Regions from separate parts of the Homo sapiens genome. Here regions 1 and 3 are each linked to region 2. Evidence: promoter capture Hi-C in 16 types of primary human blood cells and fetal thymus (Javierre and others, 2016). All regions are on one chromosome and are shown on one strand. Each heading gives the region's core, a stretch centred on a gene start or on the middle of the fragment in contact. The rest is flanking DNA. Distances are from core to core; before and after follow the strand shown. Region 1 overlaps LOC102723321 (a long non-coding RNA gene). Region 2 holds the start of GJA8 (gap junction protein alpha 8). Region 3 has its middle 21 kb from the start of ACP6.

Region 1 (4,962 bases), core at 1,253-3,752, 150 kb after region 2:
CAGTATCAATTCTGATAACACACTTTGGGCCTTCTAAACTAGGCCTATTCTGTGGGGTAGGGCTGGAGAGGGGAGGCAGGGGTGCTCGGGGACAGAAAGGAGTACAGTCCAGGCTTGTTGGAAGAAGACTATATCCAAAGGGGCTGGGAAAGAGCCAGCAGGGCATGGCCCAGAGTAGCCTTAGCATCAGGGAAGTCAAAGCAGCAAAACATCAAGTACACAGAGAGGTGGGGAATGGGGAGGGTGGAGGAGCACATAGCAGGGAAGCCAAGCCGTGGAAGTTGTGTAAGACACCAGACAGGCAGGCAGGCACTGCTGGGGACATGTCTCAGCTGGCAGTAGGGCCCCAGACCCTGATCTGGATTTGGAGCTGGACTTCCAGACTCAGGGAAGGGAGTCTGACATGGGCAGAGCGGAACTTCACCCTAGTAGCTGGGTTACTAAGCAAGGCACTAGGACAGAGTCTTGGATAGAGTACAAGCAGGCTCTTGTACTCTTGTGGGGCCCATTATCAGAATTACAGAGCTGCAGATGAATAAACTGAGTCAAGCTCTTCATGGCAATATATATGATGTTTATAGATACAGTACCTTCAAAGCCTTAAACCAAAGGAATGACAACCATGAGACTTCTAAGCACCTCATCAAGCCGGCGGGTGGGGAGATGATTTGGGGGTTGGAGGCTAATGCTTTTCTTTATCTATCTCCACCTTCAGCTAAGGGCAGCACAGCCCCGGGGGAGGCCATCGCTTGGCAGCAAGACTCAAGCCCCCTCAGTCCCTTCAACCTGACAGAATTTTCCATTACCCTGATTCAAGGCCCTTATGGGACTGCGTGCATGTACTTGCTAACAAAGGGTTTCTCAGAGAAAGTGAGAACTAAGCAGGAACCTTTCAGGAGTGTTCATCGCCCTGGGCTCTGCAGCCTGGCCAAGGCTAAATCCCCTCCAGCAGCAGCTGCTGTTCAGCTAACGGGGCAGGATAGAAAGTTATTTTATACCTTCTTGGGACTTGTCTTTAAATGTGATAAAATATAACCTGGAGGGGATTACATTTACAAAGGTTTGAGGTAAAATTCCACATTTGAAACCATTGTAAAAGCTTGTGCAGGGTGTAGTTGGCTGGGGAAAAGTCAATTTAAAAACCCTCACATATTTTAATAGTAATAATGAAATACACCTTCAATTATTAAGTGCTTGCTGTTTTCTAGGCATTGTGCTAAGAGATTTTATGAATTGCTATTTCATCCTTACAGTAATCCTTCAAGGTTATTTGACCCCATTTTACAGATAAGGAAACAGACTTAGATTCAGTAACTTGCACAGCTACTAGGCAGTAGGATTGGGATTTAAACCTGCCTTATACTTCTCTTAAGTGCTCATCACATATTCTTAAGTAAAAAGGCAAGACACAAAATTGTATGTGTAGCATGATTACGATGTGCAAAAATAGGCATTTATGCTTGGCGTGGTACTGCGCATCTATAGTCCCAGTTATTTGGGAAGCTGAGGTGGGAGGATCACTTGAGCCCAGGAGTCCCAGGGCAGCCTGGACAACATAGCAAGACCCCTATCTCAAAAAAAAAGGCATTTATAAGAGCAAAGACTTGAGGGCAACAAACAAAAATGAAAGCAATTTGGTGGATTGGTGGGGGTGCTTTAATTCTCTTAATTTTGTAAACTATTTTAATGTAATGATGCTATTTTTGAAATTAACACACTTAAAATATATTTATATTCAACTTTTGGGCTAAATTTGGTGTTCCCCTGGGGTGGCTGCCAGGAGCTGCCTTTCAGTTTCTGCAATCCTCATGCCTGGGAAAATTTTTTTGTTTGGGCTCAGACTGTCACCCTTAAATGGGATATGGTTAGCAGGAGGTGCCCACCCCAGGGTTCTGGCAGTCAACTGTGTGACAGCGGATGGCCCACCAGCTGTGGCCTCTGGGAATGGCAGAGCACTAGAGTGAATTGGGAGGCAAGGCTTCCCCCATGAACCCTTCTTACACATCCCAGTGTGGTGACCGCCCACTGCACACCATGTCAGGGCCACGGGCAGGCACCGTTTGGGAGGATATCTGTAAGAGAGAATCCTGCCCTCAACCACTCGGGACCTTGTAGAGGAGGGGAACAATGCCATATTACCAGGGAGCAGTGCTCAGTGTGGTAAGAGGAAAAAATGTCACTGAAGGTCTTCAGAGGAACGGGAGAACCTGGGGAGGAGGAAGAGCTCAGGAAGGGCTTCATAGAGTTGGTGGCACTTGAAATTGCCTTTGAAAGAGGAATAAGATTTTCTATGTCAGAGGAGAAGACTTCCCGGTGGGAGAAAATGACACAAATTAAAACAAACAAACAAACACCAGCAACAGAACCGATAAGGAACTGATGTGTTCCAGGAGCTGGGAGGAGCCCTGAGGGAGTGAGGCCAAGAGGTGGGATGCGCAGTGGGGGATGCTGGACACTTTCACTCTGTAAGTGGTAACGACCTGTTGAGTTTCTTTGTGTGTTGGGAGTGGGATGATCAGGGCTACACTTCAGAGTTACACTTCAGAGTTGCAGCAGGTGAGACAGGGAAGACTGGTGGGGCTGGGAGAGGGGTCAGCATGAGCTAGGAACACAGGCAGTAGGACTTGGTGACTGGTCAGGTATGGGGTGGGGGATGGTGGTAGGAAGAAGTCAGGAATGACTAAGAGGCTTTAGGTCTTAGTCATTCAACAAAATTTATTCCATTCACTTATTTAACAAACGTAAGATTCAGGCCTGCTGTATGCCTCATGCAGCACCAGGACCTGGGGATTCAGAGAGGAAAACTGCGGTCAGACAATTATTATGCAGTAGAGGGATCATGGGTGTGTTAGACCCTTCTCTGCTTTACTACAGATCCTCTCCGCCTCACCTGCCTCTTCTTCCAGCTGTCTGGAAACCATATGGATCAATTTCACATGGGTGCAGCTGACTGCATCTGACTTCCCCTAGGATTTCCCTAAGGAAGCAGTGGTAGAACCCTGCTCAGTACTTTCCCCAACACATGGGCAACCTTAAAGTGTGGGCCTAATGCAACACATGGCAAACCTCTGTTCAGTGGGTTTGTCTCCACCCCTGTCCCACTCCCCTGGTGGTTCTGAGATCTGGATGATAGGGCTACTCAAGGGTGTGGTCCTGTGGATTGAGCAGCCAGTGACACTTAGCAGTGTCCTGCTTGATGACACATCTTCCTATTGAGTCTGTCTCCTTACCTGTCTTTCTCACCTCATTCCCTATTGTTGCCCCTAAGACTATACACTCTATTGATGTGTTAGCACATCAGCCTTTGCCTCAGGCCTGCTTCCTGGAGAATCCAGACTGAGCCAATGATTCCGGTTTGAAATGTAGCTTTCCTCATTCTACAATAGTATGACATTCAGACCAAGCCTGGAGCATCAAAGTTAGTAGGTATCCTTCACTGCTAGAACAAGTATATGTGTGTAGGGAAAAACATTCTGACATTTGATAGTATTCTTGCCAGCATTTATAGGGATTTTTAAAAATTCCTGTGGTTTCCTGTGTGTGAGTCTTGTCTACCTGGATAGACCTTTCCCTCCAGACCTTGTGCCTTGCAACATTTAGGACAACGTTAGGCAGGCAAGAGATGCTGGAAAACATCTGCCATGTTGAACTGAAGTTGTTCTTTCTTATTTTTCTGGATTCTACCTTGTCTTTTGCTGATTCACTTTATCTACAAACTAGTTTCCAAAAGGGCATTTTCTTCCTCTCCTTGTGCTGCCTGTGCATGGTGAAATACAGCACCAATGGAAACTTACACTGAGCATGAAAGCATGACCACTTTCCAACAGACACAACGGTTTATCCAAAGAGCTCTCCTCTCCAGACAGTGGCTCTGAAGGCCCTGCTTGGGAAATATCCAAGCTTGTTGCTACTATCATGTCCCTATGTCCTCCTATGTTTCCAAGACATCCTGCCTCCCATCCCCCACCACCACTGACAAACTGTGACAGCCCCCCAGTTTTATTTGAATTTTCTATCAGAAAGGAAATTAAAATGTGGAAAGAAACAGTTAATCAAGGACTTCCCTGTCACTAACTTGTCTGTCTTCTTCCCTGCCCCCTAAAATAGTCTCAAGATTTTAGGAAAATAAAAAATTACTACACACATACTCACACATGTTGGGGTCCCTATTTTAATATGTATAGCAGCCTTTAACCCAGTGGGTTCTGTGGGAGTGGGAGGGGGCAGCTAAAATGATGGTGGCCTTTTGCTCTGCCTCCCATGTCGGGCTCAGGCAGGAGAGCTGAGAGTGTGGAGGTGTTGAGTTCAGGACAGCCAGGGCACTTCAGCTGGTTAAAGAGAGTGAAAGGTGCCCTCTGACAGCTGGGTCTGGGAGCTGTCAAGGCATGGATAGAGCTGCTCTGTGTAGCAGCTAAGCTTTCAAAGGGAAACACCTCTGGCTTTTCAAACATGCACTTTCTGCTTCCTTTCCCTGGCACCTACTTAGACCCTGCCATTCTAAGCCCCCATGCTCATTCCTTCCAACACTTTCCATCCACCCCACTGACTTTCCCTTCCCATACAACAGAGCACTGGGTCATGGAGGTTGTGAGATATGACTCGCCCTCCCAACTATACTCTGGGACATCAGAGAGTACATCTGACGTTACTTTTCTGTTGCCCTCTGTCCCTAGCACATGAGTCACAGGATTTTATAATGGTGAGGAGCCCCTAGCAATCACATTTAACTCTTATTTTCCAGGAAACTGAGCCTGGAAGGAGCAAGAGTCCTAGAACCTCAGGGCTGAGCAGTCATCTAGCCTAACCTAATTGCTGCTATGATCTCTCCACTGCCTGCCAATGGTCTTCCACCTTCTTCTGAGCATTTCCACTGGCAAAGCAGCAGAGTGGTTAAGTGGACTCGGCCTGGTTTCATGGATCTTTGGGTCAGATCTTAGCCTTGCTACTTAACCTCTTTGAGCT
Region 2 (4,728 bases), core at 671-3,170:
TTGGTTTCCTGACTTCTAACAGTGAAAATTTAAAGGAAGTCAGATCAGAGAAGCAAAGCGTTCTGTGGGAGCAGGGAGAAATCTGAACCAAAGGAAGACTATTTCTCTTCTCTTTCTCAGAGATAATTCTCTGTTTTATTTTGCTTGTGAAAATTTAGTGAACAGACCTATTACAGATGGAAAATAAATGGATAGAGTTCAAGCCTCCAACCCCAGGGTGTCCATATATGGCCAGGAACATCCCACCAGAAAATGATGGCTAGAGGTAATGATTAAAATAACACCTTATGTTTGGGTATCCTTGATCTAAGTGATACATTTTCACGTATCTTATTTCAGTCCTCATAACAAGCTGTGAACTAGGCCAGTGGTTCTCAGACTTAGATTTCACAGACTAGTATAATAATAACAAACTAGTGTGACCAACATAAGGATACCAACTCCTTATTTTGCCAAACAAGGACATAAAAATAAGAGTTATTGGCTGGGCGTGGTGACTCATGCCTGTAATCCCAGCACTATGGGAGGCCGAGGTGGGAGGATCACTTGAGGTCAGGAGTTCAAGATCAGCCTGGCCAACAGGGTGAAACCCTATCTCTACTAAAAATACAAAAATTAGCTGGGCACGGTGGTGGGGCACCTGTAATCCCAGCTACTTGGGAGGCTGGGGCAGGAGAATTGCTTGAGCCCAGGAGGTGGAGGCTGCAGTGAGCTGAGATCACACCACTGCACTCCAGCCTGGGCAACACAGCGAGACTCTGTCTCAAAAAAAAAAAAAAAGAGTTATTAAATTACTAACTACAACTACAGTCTATTTTCATCATCATTTCATAAAAGGGGATTTTAACACCACAAAACTGGAGAGGACATAACTTCAGAATAAAAGACAAGCCTTTAAATTGAACACACTTAACTTGGTGAAACATTTACTACATTGTTAACTTTATCATTGTCACATTTTGGTCACAGGTTGTGGAAACCTTCATCTTGAGCTAGAACTGACAGATCCCCAGATGGATGTCTGAGAACCAGTGAACTTGGCATTATCAATCCCCATTACCAGACAAAAAGACAGGCTGGGAGGTGAAATGAGTCTCCAAGATGGGGGCTTAGCTAGTGAGGGCAGAGCTAGGCTGTGAGCCCTGGTCTTCTAGATCTAAGCCCATTACAGCATAGCCCTCCTCTGGTTTTGAAGAGGCAGAATAACACATATACATCCATTAATAAGTTATCCAAAGCGTTCAATGGCCACTTACCACTCTGGTTGGTAACCAGGTGGAAAGTGCCTCTTTTCTAGTTTCTAGAACAGCCACTAGCCAGCAGTTCTCATAGATAGACAACAGAACCTGCTCCTAGGAGGAATTTTATGGTCCTTAGCCAGATCCCTTCCTGTGCTCCATTAAATGCTCCAACATGGAAAATGCTGAGCACGAAGCCTCCGCTACCCCCACAGCATTCAGTAATTATGACTATTATTTCTATTGTAGAATTTGAGTGAAAAGGGCACAAAACTTTTTCATAAATATCAAATACTTGGTTTAGGTCCCTGTGGATTCCTGTAGACATGAAAAGAGCTTAAGAAGTCAAATTGTAGTTTGAGTTTGGACATCTCTGTTTCCCCATCCTGCTGATTATTCCAGCATTCCTCTCCCTTCCAAACCTCTGCCAGTTCTTAGGTCAACTTGAAGAGGGTTTTCAGAGTTGGAGTGTAAGTCTAGCCATCCCAGCCCAAGACTGAATCTTATTGGCAACCTTTTTCCTTTTGGAGAAGCCTATATATGGCCCTTAGATTAGGCTGAGAAAGAACAATTGGGGGGAAGGTTACAAACTAATATCACCCAAGGAAAACTTGCCAATACAAGGAGTGTCCCACGGAGAAATATGTGCTCTTTCTCTCTTGGCGCTCAGCAGCAAAATGGCAACTTTCGTCTCTTTCCTTTGCTGCCTAAAAGCCCACCTCCCACTTCTCTACCCCGCCCCTACTGTGCTGCACGACTGAGCAGATATGACTGGATTGGCCCTGATGGGTAGGTTTTACTGTCCAGCAATATTTTAAGCTCCCAGCCAGACAGCTTTTATGAAGGGAGGGATGTTTGGGAAACAATGGGAGTGAGAGAATGGGAGAGCTGTGTTGGGCACTGAGGGGAGGAGGATGGGGAAAGCTGATGTGTGAAAGCTTAGCTGGGGCTTCTGTGCCTCCCAAAGTTTCTTTTAGCAGCAGACTGGGCCTGTACATCAGTAAACCTTTGGCGTCTCTCCAGAGCGCATGAGCCTAGGGGCATTTTCCCAAGGCCTTATCATCAGCTGGGAGAATCTTAATGATGTAGGGACAGTAAGTGGTCAGTTGTGTGAATCCCTCTGCCCTGAGTCACACCAAGAGTGGTTGGTCCTTTCCAAAGGACCATATTTCATTTTTTATTGGTGGTTTGCTCTTGTCTCTCAAAGCCTTCAGCAGAATTGTGGATATTAGAGGCTGGGAAGTGTAGTGGCGGAAGGAAGGATGGGGAGCATGTTGCTAATAGATACAAAAGCACAGCTAGATAGGGGGAATGGGTTCTGGTGGTCTGCAGTGCTGTAGGGTGAATATGGTTAACATTAATTAATTAATTATTTTAATTTTTATATTTTTGTGTGTGTGTGAGACAGAGTCTCGCTCTGCCACCCAGGCTGGAGTGCAATGTCACGATCTTAGCTCACTGCAACCTCTGCCTCTCAGGTTCAAGTTATTCTCCTGCCTCAGCCTCCTGAGTAGCTGGGATAACAGACACCCACAACCACGCCCAGCTAATTTTTTTTTTTCTATTTTTAGTAGAGACGGGGTTTCACCATGTTGGCCAGGCTGGCCTCAGACTCCTGACCTCAGGCGATCTGCCCGCCTTGGCCTCCCCAAATGCTGGGATTACAAGCATGAGCGACCATGCCTGGCCGTTAACTATTTTATTGTATAGTCTCAAAAAGCTAGAGGAGAGGATTTTGATTGTTCCCAACAGAAAGAAATGATAAATGTTTGAGATGCTGAATATGCTAATTATCCTGATTTGATCATTACACATTGTATACATGTATTGAAATATCACTGTGTATCACAAATACGTACAATTATTATGTGTCAACTAAACATAAAAGGAAAGAGCTTTCTAAAAAGATCAAAACAATAAAAAAGAAACACAAACAAACCTTCAGCAGGGTGGTCTCCCTCTTTGAAAGGAGCCTTAACACTCCAAAGAATTCTGGTGCCATTTGTCAAAGTAATAGCCTTTCTCACCACGTTTCACTTATAATTACATATACTTTTGAGTAGCGGAAGTTCAATCAATGTCAGCTAACATTTTTAGACTTTAGTGCCTTCATCTGTTAAATGGGGATATGATGGTTTTGCTCACCAGGAGGCTCTTGGATTAAATTCTAATGTGGCTTAATGAGGAATGATGCTTGGAGGGCATGGACATATGCTCTCTGAGGCCCACTCCCGTCCCATCATCTGGGACTGACTATTGGTAGTATAAAAAATGGTTATTTTGACTACATTTCCAAACCAAAAATAGGGGCATTTTATCCTACAAGTTTATTCGTGAAAACAATGGAGCAAAAATAGTTGAAACTTAGATTGTTTTATGAAATCTGCAATGTATGATTACTAAATTGAAGACAACTTGGAGGGCAAACTAGACAAAAAAAATCTAAGCACTGGCTTCACCACCCCACCCCCCCTTCCTGTCCTTTCTGGTGTCATGGACATATTGCATTTTGATGGGGGCAGTTTGAAGGAGGATGGTACCAATGTTGTGTGAGTCCCCAATTCCATTTTAAATAAAATGGTCACTAGCCCAAAACCTTGTTTACTTTAGATGTCTGATTTCTTTTGAACTCCCAAGTTTGAGGGCCCACACTGACTGGGACAATGCCCTATAGCAAATCCTTCAGTTAAAAATAGATGGTCAAGGCTGATCCCTGCAATATCAATAAGGTAAGAAGTCAGAGGATGAGGGGAAAAAATCCAATCATTCTTTCTTTGGGAATATTCAGTACATGCTGATTCCTGAAGCTTGCGCTCTCCCTGATATAGTCCTATGAAGAGAAAAGAATCTACAAAGCTTCTCTTTAAAATGAAGTTCTCCCTATCCAAGGCTTCCCAGTCCAACTTGGCTAATGTAGTGGGTGGTGTCATCGCTCATCATCATTTTGTGAGAGATGGTAGTAGAGGATGCATTTGAATCCAGAAAAACGGGGCTGTCAACAAGGCTCTGAACCAGTTATAGTCTCTCGGATTTAGACAAATCTAGCTTTTCAATTTAGCACTTTCTTTGTTTTCTTACGCTGTTAACAAAGAAGATACTCCTCTACTCGTAGTACCCAATTGATTAAGTTATCTTTGTTATTGGTTCTTCTGTTTGTAGCTGGGAAGTCCTTGAAAATATAAACACTCAGTCGTGTATATCTTGGGGAAAGTTTTGAAAGAGATCGGGAAAGAGGCTCACCTTAGCTACCATTGAGAGATGACTTGTCTATTCCTACCAAGAATCACTTTCTCAGGTCTTTCAGAGGGATGTCTTCCCAGGGTGTCTGTATTGCATTATTTGAGATAAATAAGTAAATGTCTAGAATAGGAGACATAACCACATTCAAATGTAAGTTCCAATTTTATATTCTGTAATCTTATAGATTATTAGATTATTGACATTTTGGATAATCTAATGGTGGCATTCTCCTACCAGGGTTCGTTTTTCC
Region 3 (5,071 bases), core at 2,558-5,057, 210 kb after region 2:
GTTGAACTATGTTGAGAGGTGAGATCTTTAAGAGGTGATTAAGTCATGAGTGCTTTGCTCTAACTGACAGATTAATGTCATTAGGAGTAGGTTCCTGATATAAAGGAACTTTCCTCTCCTGCTCTCTCTTGCCCTTCAGCCTTCCACCAGGGGATGATGCAGCACAAAGGCTCTTCCCAGATGCCAGTGTCTTGATACTGGACTTCCCAGCCTACACAACTGTGAGAAATAAATTCCCTGTCTTTATAAATTAACCAGTATGTGGCATTCTGTAATACCAACCTAAAGGAGACCAAGACAGCACCTAAAGGATTGGAGTGTAGTAAATGGAAGTCTGTCACTCTGCCTATGGGACCAGGAAAGGCATTTCTCAGGAAAGGTGGCCTCGAAAATGAGCTGGGTCTCGAAAATTAGTATGCACATACACTAACATTGCCTAGGAAAAGAATACCTATGAGCAGATATAGCCTGTCCTGTTTTAGGATTGCAGGAGAGTGGGCTCATTTAGCACTCCTATATAAATTAGCCTCTGAAAGGGGCTTGAGAAATTAGGCATTAGTTTATTTTAGTTTGTTTTTTCCACCAATTCTACCCACTTCCTCCTTTGGGGAAAAAAAAATCTTCCCCTATAACAAACAATATAATGTTAGTTAAAAAATCATATCAAAGTATGTCGCTTGTAATTATTTGAAAAATAGTTTAATAAACTAAGCTCTGCAGTTGGAGGAGGGATATGGATTGCTTTCCAGGTAATTTAAGGGATCCTGAGCACATAGCTATAACACAGCTGTTTCTAGGGCTCAGGGAGAACTAGCCTTTCCAAGACCAATGTCCCATTGGTTTATCCTGCCAAAAGCTCTGGGCTTGTCCATGAAGCAGTGACTGTGGGGTTAGATGAGTAACAGTGGATTGGATCCTTAAAATCACCACATCTCACCTTGAATGAGCCATAGTTGCAGAAAGAGTATTTCATTAAGGAAAAAGTCATATTTCCTACCAAAGAGGTAGAGTGATTTCATGGATTTAAAACCACAAGGTACTAAAATAACATCTGACAGGAAGGTAGAGAGGGCTCCTGAACCTAGAAATACTTGGACTGAGAGTCTGAGTGTCTTGATGTAATAATGTTGCCATTTTCTCTTATTAGTCTAGTTACCAGCAAACTATGGATCCCTCAAAAATCAATTCAGTACCATATGACCTGCCAATTCTACTCCTAGGTATGTACCCAAGAGAACTGAAAACATGTTCCTAAAAGACTTGTACACAGATGTTCATAGCAGCATTGTTCATAATAGCCTTTATTCACATAGCATTATATAATGCTATGTGAATGCTATGTGAATAGCATAGAATAGTGTGTTACGTGAATAGCATTATTCACATAGCACATTATTCACAACGTCTATCAACAGATAAATGGATAAATAAAATATATATTATACTGTGGAATATTACTCTGTCATAAAAATGAAGCACTGATTCATGCTACAACACAAATAAAGCTTAAAAACATTATGCTAAATGAAAGAAGTCAGACACAAAATGCATATATCGGATGATTCCATTTATATGAAATGCCTAGAATTAGGGAATCCATAGCGACAGAAAGTAGCTTACTGGTTGCTAGGGGTTCAGGGGAGGGAAGAATGAAGAGTGAGTGCAAATGGGCTTGGGGTAACAAATGAGTTCTGGAATTAGATAGTGGTGATGATTGTGCAATTTTGTGAACATACTAAAAATCAGTGAATTGTAGTCTTCAAAAGGGTGAATTTTATGGTACATGAACTTTAGCTCATTTAACATACAAAACAATTCAGACAGATCCAACTTCATGAAGATGTCCCTGAGCCTCATGGTTAGAACTAACCAGTCCCTCCTGTGCACAACCTTTAGAGCACACTGTTATTGTGGACTAATGCAATTTTTCATGTATGCCAGCCTCCTCTGATAATAGTAAGCTCTTCAGAAGCAGGATTATGTCTTGTCCATGTCCGTATCCTCAACTGGGCACAGTGCTTGAAATTCAGCACATATTCAATAAATATATGTTGAATTGAAGATATTTTCCAAGACTTTTACAATCTGCAGTAATACTGAGCAATCCATTTATAAATATAATAAATAGTACATATAAACTGTGTGTAAGTTTTTTGTGATATAAAAATGAAAGAGGCATAGTCTCTACCTTTGAGGAACTTATATATTTTTGACAAAAATAAGTAGACTTAAATACCTACAAAGCAAGGAAGAAAATAAGTGCTATGTAAACGGCATAATGATCGACACCTAATAGTTCAAAGAAGTAAAAATTACTACCTGAGTGTGATGGGGAAGATTTTTTTAAAAGATAGTTGTATAAAAGTGAGCTTTAGGGATGTAACAAGATGTTAAAAGGAAAGCTTCAGCTAAGGCACATTCTAGAGCTATGTGTTGGACCAAAATGCAAACACTTTCAAAGTAGGTGGTAAAAAGGGGTGGAAGGGTTGGTAACTCTTTTTTTATTATTTTTTTCTTTGAGATGGAGTCTCTCTCTGTCATCAGACTGGAGTGTAGTGGCGTGGTCTCAGCTCCATGCAACCTCCTTCTCCTGGGTTCAAGCGATTCTCCTGCCTCAGCTTCCAAGTAGCTGAGACTACAGGCGCGTGCCACCACACCTGGCTAATTTTTGTATTTTCAGTAGAGACGGGGTTTCACCATGTTGGCCAGGATGGTCTCGATCTCTTGACCCCATGATCTGCCAGCCTCGACCCCCCAAAGTGCTGGGATTACAGGCGTGAGCCACCGTGCCTAGCCCTGGGTTGGTAACTCTTAAATGATTACCCACACTGATGGCGTAAAGGGATGCTGAATTGGAGATCAGGAAGACTTTTGAAAAGGATTTCTTTGGAGGGAAGTATTGGGTTCCAAGAATTCTATCCTTCTCATTATGGGGGAAAAAGGGGAGAGAAGAAGAGAGGAAAGGACAGGAGAGGAGAGGAGAAAGGGGGAGAAAGAGGGTGGGGGTGGGAAGGAGGGATATCTGCTCCTTAAATCAAACCAAAGGACAGAACTTTTATGGAACCATCCGTGGAGCTTAATATGTGTCTTCTAAAGTTTGAGGGACACAGGGGACTTCTGACTGGTTCATGCTTGAGAAATCTAAATCCAGAGTGCTGAGTTATGGGGAAGGGGCTGCATTCCCAGAGTTTTCCTGGACAAACATGTTTCCTATGGACCAGATGTGGCCCATGAGGGAAAGGGAGTTGTGTGGTGTTGCTTAGCCCGTGTTTATAATGACCTCCTGCAGGAGTGAGGAGCCTCAATACAGGAAAGCTGGAGATGAACTGCTGCTGGATACCTAAGGCTGCAGAAAGGTGGGGAAAAGGAAGAGTCTCAGAGCAACCCATGAAAATCCCTTAAAAGAGCAATCAGCTTTAAACATCTGCAAAGGCCAGAGAGCACCAACTTGATCACCTGCACAGCACCAGTCAACTAAGAACTTTGCTAGTACTCCTTCATTGATCTCCCTTCCTAAGCTCCAGATCCTAGAGTGGTCAGAATCAGCTTTAGAAAGATGGTAAAAGGAGAAGAATCATGAGATTATCCCCTAACCCACTTTCAAATTTCAGACTTCTAGCCTGTGGCCAGTACAAACTGGAGGAGAGGAGGAGAAACTTCAAGGTTAAGAATTATCATTCTTACCTATGACTGCCATTTTAATTCCTGATTTCCACCATGTTTTGTGACTTTAAAAATGGCTGAGTACCTTTAATATCTCTGAGGGGCAACCTCTGTTTTTTCCTAGGGTCAAGGAGAACAGCCCCTCAGTGGAGATGTAAAGAGACAGTCAAAAATGAATTTGCTTTAAGATTCCATTCTACCAGTTGTGTTTGTTTCATATAAACATTACAGATAGAAATAGGAAAATGGGTCTTGATAAAAGGAATCGAGGTAGCCAGATCCAAGGTCTATTTGGAAAAGGACACATAGAGAAAAACATCTATCTCTGGGATGGAAATAGTGGAAAATGTAGACGGGAAGCTGATTTAAAGGGCCTCCAGTACCAAACTGAAGGGTCATTTAAATACTGGAGTATAATTTCAGTGTATTTTGGTATTTCAGTATGTTTTGTATTGACATATTTTCAGTACTTGAGATCAGTAAAACTAAGTATTCAATACTTGTAATTATTTATTTCTTTACTTTAATTGACCAGTAAAAATTGTATGTATTTGTGGTATACAACAACATGATGTTTTAATATGTGTATACATTGTGAAATGGATAAATCAAGCTAATTAACCATCATCTAAATATCTATAATCTAAGATACTTTTTTTATGGTGAGAATATTTAAAATCTACTCTCAGCAATTTTCAAATATATAATATATTGTCATTAACTATAGTCAACAAAGTGAACAATATATCTTCTGAACTTACTCCTCCTGTCTACCTGAAATTTTGTGTCATTTGACTAATATCTCCCCAATCCTCCCATCCCTCAGCCTCTGGTAAGTACCACTTTATTCCTTATTTCTGTTAAGTTTGAGGTTTTTGTTTTTTTTTTTTAAAGAGATGGGGTCTCACTATGTTGCCCAGGCTGGAGTGCTTATCCTACCACTGATAAGCATGGGATATTTGACCTGCTCCATTTCTGACCTGGGCTGGTTCACCCCTCCTTAGAAAACCTAGCGGTCCCCTGCTCTCAAAAAGGTCACCTACTACTGATGCTGAACTTAGTGCAGACACCCTATTGGCATAGCACACTACAGCCCAGAACTCCTGGACTTAAGCAATCATCCTGCCTCAGCCCCTGGAGTAGATGGACTACAGGCATGTGCCACTTAACCACTGGCTAAGTTTGAGTTTTTAAATACTCCACATACGAGATTATGTGGTATTTGTCATTCTGTGCCTGACTTATTTCACTTAACAAAATGTCCTCCAAGTTCATCCATGTTGTCATAAATGAGAGGATTTTTTTTATTTTCTAAGGCTGATTAGTATTCCATTATGTACATATAACACATTTTCTTTATCCAGTCATCCTTTGATGGACACTTAGGTTGTTCCATATCTTGAACATT

The links. The method cuts DNA at HindIII sites, captures the fragments that hold promoters and counts their contacts. A CHiCAGO score of 5 or more calls a contact.
Region 1: a fragment that was not itself captured here is called in contact with the fragment with the promoter of GJA8 in region 2 in 1 of 17 cell types (naive CD4 T cells); the score reaches 5.4 in naive CD4 T cells.
Region 3: a fragment that was not itself captured here is called in contact with the fragment with the promoter of GJA8 in region 2 in 9 of 17 cell types (endothelial precursors, erythroblasts, naive CD4 T cells and 6 more); the score reaches 7.4 in endothelial precursors.

The regions. Positions count from the first base shown.
Region 1 is chr1:147,748,542-147,753,503 of GRCh38, reverse strand. The region is part of intron 1 of LOC102723321 (a long non-coding RNA gene); the gene reads right to left. Among named protein-coding and RNA genes, the nearest start is that of GJA5, 9.6 kb to the left of the region's middle. RefSeq lists an enhancer at 1-4,926. The HindIII fragment of the contact is 2,801 bases long and covers 1,102-3,902 here.
Region 2 is chr1:147,899,987-147,904,714 of GRCh38, reverse strand. It overlaps GJA8 (gap junction protein alpha 8), which reads right to left and starts at 1,920. Exons shown (of 2, transcript NM_005267.5): 1 at 1,854-1,920. The HindIII fragment of the contact is 6,753 bases long and covers 1-2,178 here.
Region 3 is chr1:147,689,022-147,694,092 of GRCh38, reverse strand. It overlaps the pseudogene RN7SL261P. Among named protein-coding and RNA genes, the nearest start is that of ACP6, 21 kb to the right of the region's middle. The HindIII fragment of the contact is 2,806 bases long and covers 2,405-5,071 here.